Regions from separate parts of the Homo sapiens genome. Here regions 1 and 3 are each linked to region 2. Evidence: promoter capture Hi-C in 16 types of primary human blood cells and fetal thymus (Javierre and others, 2016). All regions are on one chromosome and are shown on one strand. The core of a region is centred on a gene start or on the middle of the fragment in contact, and the rest is flanking DNA. Distances in the headings are between cores, read along the strand shown. Region 1 holds the start of RLIM (ring finger protein, LIM domain interacting). Region 2 holds the start of PIN4 (peptidylprolyl cis/trans isomerase, NIMA-interacting 4). Region 3 holds the start of IGBP1 (immunoglobulin binding protein 1).

Region 1 (2,700 bases), core at 15-2,514, 2.4 Mb before region 2:
GTTAGCTTTGTTGGAAAAACCGTAACAAAGCCAGCATAGCTGGCATGCTATTGGAAAACAGAAAAATTGGGAAAAGGAAAAGAATCTAAAAACTTGGGTAAGGTTTTCCTTTAACTGTGACAATGGGAGTGGCATGCTGTGTGGCGAGTTCCCTCAATTCTTTCAGGCATTACTACCTAAGAAAGGCCTTCTTTAACTGCCCTTTTACAAATCCCAACGTTATCAGATTTTCCCACCCTTTTACAATCACCGCCCTTTTTCGAATACTTTAGAGTTAATGCCTCAAAGTTATCAGTCTTTTAAACATCACGAATCCGTTTGTCCCTACAAGGAACTCTTCTGTCCCCCTTCCTTGATTTTTCTCCTTGGCATTTATCACTAACATGATATGTATTTATGTTTGATTTTTTCTAAATTATTGTCCCTGGCCCCTATAAAGACTCAAGAGAACTGGGATTTTGATCTGTTTTCTTTTTTTTTTTTTTTTTTTTTTTGAGACACAGCCTTGCTCTGTCACCCAGGCTAGAGTGCAGTGGCGAGATCCCGGCTCACTGCAATCTTCGCCTCCTGGGTTCAGCTATTCTCCTGCCTCAGCCTCCCGATTAGCAGAGATTACAGGCGCCCGCCACCACGCCCGGCTAATTTTCGTATTTTTAGTAGAGACTGGGTTTCACCATGTTGGCCAGGCTGGTCTCGAACTCCTGACCTCAGGTGATCCGCCCGCTTCGGCTTCCCAAAGTGCTGGGATTACAGGCGTGAGCCACCGAACGTGGCCTGTTTTCTTTCTTAATTTTGGTCTATTTTAATTTCCTAAGCAGCTACAATGGTGCTTGACATGCAGTTGGCACTGTGTAAATACATGTTGAATAAAACGCAGGCTACTTTTTGAACTGGTCTGCACGGATTGTGTGAACTGATGTGATGTCAGGGTAGACTAATATCACATTTCTCTCTCTCTGAAAATGTCTTCAAGCAGTCAGACCGTGACGTCCTTCAGTTTTCAAAATGGGAAAGCGAAGGTTCCCACAATTCTCAGAACGCAAATTTCTCGCCACAATTCAAAATGGCGGAGGAGGGTGGGGCCTGTCACATGGTGGGCGTCATAACAGCTTTCCTTTTCCAAACCGCCGCCCGCCTTGCCGCGTCGTCTGCCGTCCCCCTCCTCCTCCCGCGGAGCCTTTTCGAGGAATCGACTGGGATTGGCTAATAGGCTGGGAGTGGGGCTGCGGTGCCGGGACGCGGCATCATCACTTCCTGTTGTGGGCAGTCGTTTCCTGTCGCTGCTTGGTAACAATGGGGAAGATAATGGCTGCCTGAGCAACGTCTCCGAGCAGGCGCTGGGCTAGAGGCGGGTCTCAACCAGCTACTCATTGGAGGCGGGCTTGAGAGCGGCGGCCAGGGAGGTGCGGAGCAGCCTCGGCGGCGGCGGCCGAACCAACCGAGTCGGATCCTGACCCTAAAACCTAGTAAGTGAAGACTTGGGAATCCTGTGAGAAATGATGTAGAGCGAGAGGAAGACAGCGGAGCCGCGGCTGCCGCGTTCTCTCAAAATGGCCCGAGTGACGCGTCGTGGCAGAGGCTCAGCGCCGCCTCCGGACCCCAGGCCCGTTGCTGCGGGGGGCTCCGTGGCGTAGTCGCCGCTGCCATTTTAGTTGAGTGGTATAGTCGACAGGCTCTTTGAAGGGGAAGGAGGTGGGTAGTACTTCCTCTCGGTGGCCGCGCGAGCTGCAGCCCAGGCCCTCCGGAGCCTTAGGAAATCGGGGGAGGCAGTTTTTGAGTTTTGGCCTCAGGCGTCAGAATCTTAGAACGTCTCAGGCTTTTTCTTCTCTGTTCTCTGGAGGCTTCCCTGACCTCCCCGCGTTTTCCATGGCGGGCTTGGGTTTGGGAAAAGGGAAGTAAAAAATCAGGCTGCCCCAAGTGAGATGCTGGCAACTCTTGGGCCTTTAGATTTCCAAAACCTCATTTTGAGCCCTTCTGCAGGGTATTACCAATTAGGCGCCCCCTGGGGCCGCGATGACATCTTCCCTGAGGATCTGAGGCAAATGTGGTTTACTCCCTTGCTCGAATAACCCTGGCATATCCTTTGCCAGGTATCACTGGAAGGATCCCCCCGCAAAAGAGAGGGAAAAGCCGTTAGGTGTTTGTTGTGTTCTCCTGGATAAGGGATGGAATTGGGCCAAATTTTCAAGTTAATTTGTGTTTAATCCACCAACAACTCAATCCCTCCCCCATTAAAAAAAAAAAAAAAAGCCTAGGGGGGTCTCTGCTTCTGCAGACGGTACCTGCCACGCATGCCATAGCTTAGTAACTAGTATTAACCGGTTGGGCTTCTGCTTCCTGAATACTCGGTCCCTTTTTCCCTTATGCTGATTAATTTCAAGATGGAGGAGACAGCCACGTTCCTTCCCTAGACAGTTTCACCATACTTATTCCACAGGTTAGTCTGGGAATCTGAGGCCTAGCAGTCTTGTTATTGAGGTCATTTTTTTTTTCATTTTGGGGCAAGAGGAAGCAGTTGTATCAGATTGTCATCTTCCATTTGCAAGACCCCACAATGATTTTTTGCCAGAAGTAAGGAGCCCGCATTTCCTGAATCAGAATTAACCGCAGTGTTTTGGACTGATTGAAAGGGGGAAGAAATAATAAACCTACTGCTACTAATCATTTCTTTCATTCTTCGTGATTATAGACAGAGTAACT
Region 2 (2,843 bases), core at 208-2,707:
ATCAATCTCATCCCCGCTCCTCATGTATCCTTGATGTTACCCTGCAGGACCAGCAACAGGTTAGAAATCCAATCCAGAAAACAGAATGATCGTTGATCCTCCCTCACCACCCCTCCCCAACCCAATAAATCACCAAGTCTTGACTATTTCACATCCTAATATTTACAGAATCTTTTCTCTTTTCTCAGTTCCCACAGCCACTCCCTTAGGTCAGTCCACCATCATCTCTCACCAAGACTACCACAACAATCTCCTTACAGGTCTTTCTGATCCTTAACTGTCCTTCTTAGCAGAATATATAGCACTCTCCATGATCTCGTCTTTGTTTCTGTTTTCATTCTCACCACTTGCCATTCTGCCTTGAGTTTTTGCTCCAGCAACACTACGCTGCACACATCATGCTGTTTCTCACCTCAGTGCTTTTGCTGCTGGACCCCAAGTAAGGAATGCTTTAACCTACCCTCAATGCACATCTTGACCTGCCTAATTCATCTCCAGGAAGTCTTCCGTTCCCTGTTCCCCAGCTAAATGAAGGACTTCCCTCAATTTCTATTATATCCCATACACATCCCTCAACACTACATTTAGTACAGTGCTTTATGATCACTAAGCCTTTATCTTCCTCACTACTTCGGGAGCTCCTTAAGGCCAAAATCTCTTTTTTTTTTTTGAGACAGAGGCTCGCTCTGTCGCCCAGGCTGGAGTGCAGTGGCGCGATCTCGGTTCATTGCAACCTCTGCCTCCCGAGTTCAAGCGATTCTCCTGCCTCAGCCTCCCGAGTAGCTGGGATTACGGGCGCGCACCACCACCACGCCTGGCGAATTTTTGTATTTTTAGTAGAGACGGGGTTTCGCCATGTTGGCCAAGCTGGTCTCGAACTCCTGACCTCGTGATCCATCCTCCCTCGGCCTCCCAAAGTGCTGGGATTATAGGCGTGAGCCACCGCGCCCAGCCTTCTGTCTTATTTGTGTATCCTCAGCGCTTAGCACTCTGCCTGACACATTTCTGTTCAATGGATGAATGATTCCTTCCCCGATGGTGGGCATGTCATTCTGTAAGCATTAAAGTGAACTTTAAGGACCATAACCAATGTGTACTTCCTATTGCTGGCTTTTGATAAGACCCAATTTTAGAGCTCTAATAACCCCTTGAAATAGCAGCCCTAAGTCATCGCCTCCGAGGAACTATCCCCATCAGATTCCATTACCCACTAGGACGGTCCCTGAACCGTAGCCCAATGTATTCCTACAGATGTAATCGATGGCAGCACTGTGGGGCCACTGGCTACCTGCTGCGTCCGTCCCGGACTCCGGAGATGGACTGTCTGTTCCCTCCCTTCGCTCCTCACCCGCCCCCATTCTCCTTGATCGCTCTGGCCGCTCTACCTTTCCCCGCTTTTCCAGAACCACTTTTTCCTTTGGGCGGCATCTTGGAAGCTTGTTGTTGAACGCTGAACCGCTCCAGTTGCCGTACAAGCCCCTTTAGAAGCCCCGCCATGGGCATGTCCTAAACAAATGCCTGAAAGCCGCATCTCAATTGACCGTTCTTATTGCGGCTCCGGAAGCAGGCACAGCTTGGGGCAGACCCCGTCCTTTGGCTCTTGGACCAATGGGGCTGAAGATGTCTGACCAATAAGACGCTTGGGCCGAAACAAAGGCAGAGGGGCGGAGACAAAGGCCGGATTAGGGCGGGAAGCCTGGCCTCTGCGCTTTTTGTGACTTCTTTCACGCACCCTAATTTGCACCAGATCCCCCACTCCCCACACTCTACGCCCGAAGCTCCCCCGTTCCCCTCAACCTGGCTTTTTTCACGCGTGCGCAGTAGGAGCCACGGGGGTGGGTGGCTCTGCAGTCCCTCGGCGCCAGCTCTGGCCAATCCCGCGGGGCCGCCAGACAAAGGGAAGCAGGAGTACTGTGGTGGCGGCCAACTTCCGCTGTCTCCTCCTACACACAGGGCTGCCCTCCCTGGCAGTTTTTCGTTTGTTAATTTTATTCTGCAGTTGTAGCTAATTAGGTTCAAAAGGTAGTTTTTAAAAAAGCCTGTCACCTTTTTGCGTCTTGCAGAGCTCAGTCATGGAGAAACATTGGAAGCAGTCTGAGTGCTCCTCAGTCGGGTACTGCTTAAATAATGTTTTAGCCACACAAGAAGATATTATACAACATTCAAAATAACGATTGTAAGGCTGTGTGTACAGATAGGGGAAATGTTTTTAAGACCAAGATAAAGAATATGATTCCTTGTAAAAGAAGTATATGTAATGTATTGTATGTTATATGAATATAAAGGAGAGGAAAGCTATAGAGCAAGATGTGGCCAGTGGTGCTAGTGCATACAGGTCATCGTGTTTGTTTCTGTGTATTTTCCAAAATTTCCATAATGGTGCAGCATAGTGTAGTAAAAGCATGGATTCTGGAGCCAGATTGCCCAGTTTCAAATCCCTGCTCCACATCTGTCTACTAGCTCCATGACCTTGAGGAAGTTACTTCACCTCTCTTTGGCTCAGTTTCATCATCTGTGAAATGGAGTTGATGATAATAGTACCTACTATTATCCTATCAGGTGTTAAGAGAATTAAACAAGTTCATATCTGTAAAGCACATAAAATGATGGCTTGCTCATATTAATAATGTTTGCCTAAGATAAATGATTTTTGAATTTGTGCCCACACACTTTTTCTCCCCTTACAATCCCTCCCACCATCAATAATTTGTATATGATATGTCAGGGCGTTTCCTCCAGTCCATGAGAGAGCTGTCCTAGCTTGCCACTACCAGCCAGAATATAGAGGTCTTCCAGCTCAGAGTTTAGTTTTTGGATGCAGCCTTGCTGGACCTGGAGATGCT
Region 3 (2,937 bases), core at 161-2,660, 2.0 Mb after region 2:
CCGCCATTGGGCAGGCCTCATATTATAGCTATTGACCCACCTCTGTATTTTAGCCTGTCTTTGAGATGCCATAGCAACGAGACTAGGATAAGCCATGGAGGAATTGGCAGTGTGATTTTCAGCAGAGTTGTTCATGGTTTTGGGCAGCTCAAACTCTGCCACATGATAGCAATGGCACTGAGTTAAGTAGTTTATAAAGTGTTCTCGAGCCCGCTGCAAATGATCTAGACGCTTGCTGGGGTTGACTTGTTTCATGGTGAGGGCTCCTTGAAACGCTGGCACCAAAAGGTACTTCAGGTCGGTGGAAGCAATCTCTTCCAAATCTTCATTTCGGCTGGAAGAGCAAAAAGGAGGCAGTGAAGCCTGACTAGGCATTCAAATTGTGGCCCTTGCTTTCTGGGGGACGGAGTGGGAGGCTGGGCTGGGAGTGGACCAGAGGGAGGAGGCACGGGGAACAGCGGCCAGTTTCACTCAATGAAAGTGGCTGAGGGCTCACACCCAATGCCTATGCAATCAGCAGACGCTAGGAAGCAGAGTCGTAAGATATCAACCATCTGGGAAGAGAGGTGGGGAATGTAAACAATGTACACAAGATCGCAGTGGTAAGTAGGAACGAAACGTTCTCACCACTAAAGGTCCCCTCCACTCAGGCGCAATGGCTCCACCCTTGGTAACCATTATTACCTTCGTTCTCAGCCATTATTACTATCTTCCCCCATACCTGAACAAGTCGAGCTGCGATAACATTTCGGCAGCCTTCTCAAGGAGGTCCAAGCCCTTGAACACCTTCTCCTGGACTATCCGGGAACCGGCGGGTTCAGTCGCCACTTCTACTTCGTCCAGTAACTGTCTACCAGTTTCGAACAGCTCGGGGAGCCGCGGCAGCTGTAACTCGTCCTCAGCAGCCATCTTGGGGAGAGAGGAACCCGGAAGATCTCTTTTCCGGGGTCAAAGGCAACCTTGATAAAGAAGAATTAGGCGAGCGCGGACAAAACCGGAAGAAGCACCTCATTGGTCCAGTAGCTTCACTGTTAACAAAGCATCAAAGGACTTCCGGGAGCCGCTGTTAGCCGGCCCTGGCAACCGTTTCCATAGACTCATTTTACCAGGCAGCCCGTTACAAGTCGTAGGCATCTGTTAAAAGCAAACAAACAAGCAAAACCCTAGGCGCTGTTTTACCATGAGCTCCTCGTCGCCGACACGGGGCTGAGAAGTTCTGTGGGCTCTGAAGCCCGGGTGAGGCGAGGCTGAATTCGGAGCGCGAGGAGTGCGGACGAGCGAGTGCGTTTTAGGAGCCAGTCTGGCGCGCCCCTTACCTCGCGAGTAGCTCCCTAGGTTGAGGAGTCCAGGGACTCTAGCCGCCGCACCACTCCCACGGTTTGAAGATCCGGTCGCTTGAGCGCGAAGTGCAAGTAGCGCCCCCCTGCGGTTTCCGTCCACCCACCAGATGGAGCTCCGGGTTCCTCCCAGCCAATCCTCTCCCGTCCTCTTCCCCCTTCACCCCACACACGCCTACGACCCGTAGGCCGGCGTCCGGTGGAGCCCCCCTCAGCAAGATTGGCAACCTGCAACTCCGGTCACCGCACAGCCGGCTTCCCTTCGTGCACTTAGTTCCTACATCAAATGTTATTTCTGTGCAACCTTCCTTGTCTCTCTACCGCCTTCCACCCTGTGCCCTTCAGCCGCCAAGTCTGGGTTTCTCCTATGCATCTCTATCATGGCACCTACCACGCTGTATAATTGCTAGTGACTTACAAATCTCTCTTATCAGAATGAATTTGACTCATCTTTGCACCACTCTGGCTAGCCTGAGTACTCAGTATCAGTCATTATCTGAATAAAAAAAAAAAGTGATCAGTTTGGAAAGCAGCCAACTTATGCAGAACAGCATTGTTCAGTAGGTAGTTACTAGCTACATGTGGTTACTAAGCACTTGAAAGTGGCTATTTTGAATCGAGATGTGCTGCAAGTGTAAAAAACACCCCAGATTTCAAAGACATTTAAAAAAAAAAGAATGAAAAATGTAAATACTTTTTACATGGACTACATGTTGAAATGATAGTCTTTTGGATATGTTGGATTAAATATATTATTAGAATTAATTGTACTTCTTTCTTTTCACTTTGTAAATGTGCCTGCCAGATAATTTAAAACTATATTTGTAGCTCCCATTATATTTCTACTGGACAGAACTGATGGAAAACATAATTTCAGGACTTCAAAGAAGGGACGTCATTGTTTTGAACAAAGCAATATAAATACATACTGATTACCTTAGGACGCAGCCTGAATTGTCCTAGGAGATTTAAGTAGCAGGCACACTGTCTACCCCTGAAAATAAACTTTTAAACTAGTATTTTAAACTACATATCGTTGAGAAGAAAAAAAGCTTCATTAAAAAACAACTAGAGGGCAATATAGGACAGTATAAAATAGGTGATATGTTGTATTGCACAGGCTGTTGGAAAAGCAAGAAAGGGCAAGTCATCCCATGCTAGGAGTAGTTCAGAAGGCTTCTTAGACATGACATGCGGTCACATAGAAGAATGTCAAAGTTTAAAGGGAACCCCCAAAATCGGAGGAAAAACTTGAGACCAGAAAGGTTAAGGGACTTGTCCAGCCAGTTTGTGACAAAGTCAGTGACTTCTGCGTTCAATTGTTTCTACTCCATTAACCTTCAGTTGGGTAGGATTTAGAAAGATGAAGACCTTTAATGTGGGACAGATTGAAGCCCCAAACTAGAACAGTGCTTCCTAAGAGGGAGAGGAGGCTGTGGCACACATGTAGGTTGAAAAAGCTTCCCAGGTGATTCTAATAAACCTTCCCTTGCAACCCCTGCTTTATAAACTAAGAAGGAAGTGAGGCTTTGGCGAATTACCTATTTGGTTTATCTGGCACCTCTAGTAAACTGACCTTTCAGGGTCAGGCTTGGCAGGG

Evidence for each region. The method cuts DNA at HindIII sites, captures the fragments that hold promoters and counts their contacts. A CHiCAGO score of 5 or more calls a contact.
Region 1: a contact is called between the fragment with the promoter of RLIM here and the fragment with the promoter of PIN4 in region 2, in 1 of 17 cell types (total B cells). The highest score is 8.4, in total B cells.
Region 3: a contact is called between the fragment with the promoter of IGBP1 here and the fragment with the promoter of PIN4 in region 2, in 1 of 17 cell types (total B cells). The highest score is 6.1, in total B cells.

The regions. Positions count from the first base shown.
Region 1 is chrX:74,613,188-74,615,887 of GRCh38, reverse strand. It overlaps RLIM (ring finger protein, LIM domain interacting), which reads left to right and starts at 1,264. Exons shown (of 4, transcript NM_016120.4): 1 at 1,264-1,466. RefSeq lists an enhancer at 1,340-1,659. The HindIII fragment of the contact is 9,843 bases long and covers 1-2,700 here.
Region 2 is chrX:72,180,371-72,183,213 of GRCh38, reverse strand. PIN4 (peptidylprolyl cis/trans isomerase, NIMA-interacting 4) reads right to left here and starts at 1,457. Exons shown (of 4, transcript NM_006223.4): 1 at 1,386-1,457. The coding sequence starts at 1,428. RefSeq lists an enhancer at 1,198-1,417. The HindIII fragment of the contact is 4,711 bases long and covers 1,439-2,843 here.
Region 3 is chrX:70,131,920-70,134,856 of GRCh38, reverse strand. IGBP1 (immunoglobulin binding protein 1) reads right to left here and starts at 1,410. Exons shown (of 7, transcript NM_001551.3): 1 at 1,317-1,410; 2 at 722-1,134; 3 at 41-334. The coding sequence starts at 909. RefSeq lists an enhancer at 532-991. The HindIII fragment of the contact is 12,060 bases long and covers 1-2,391 here.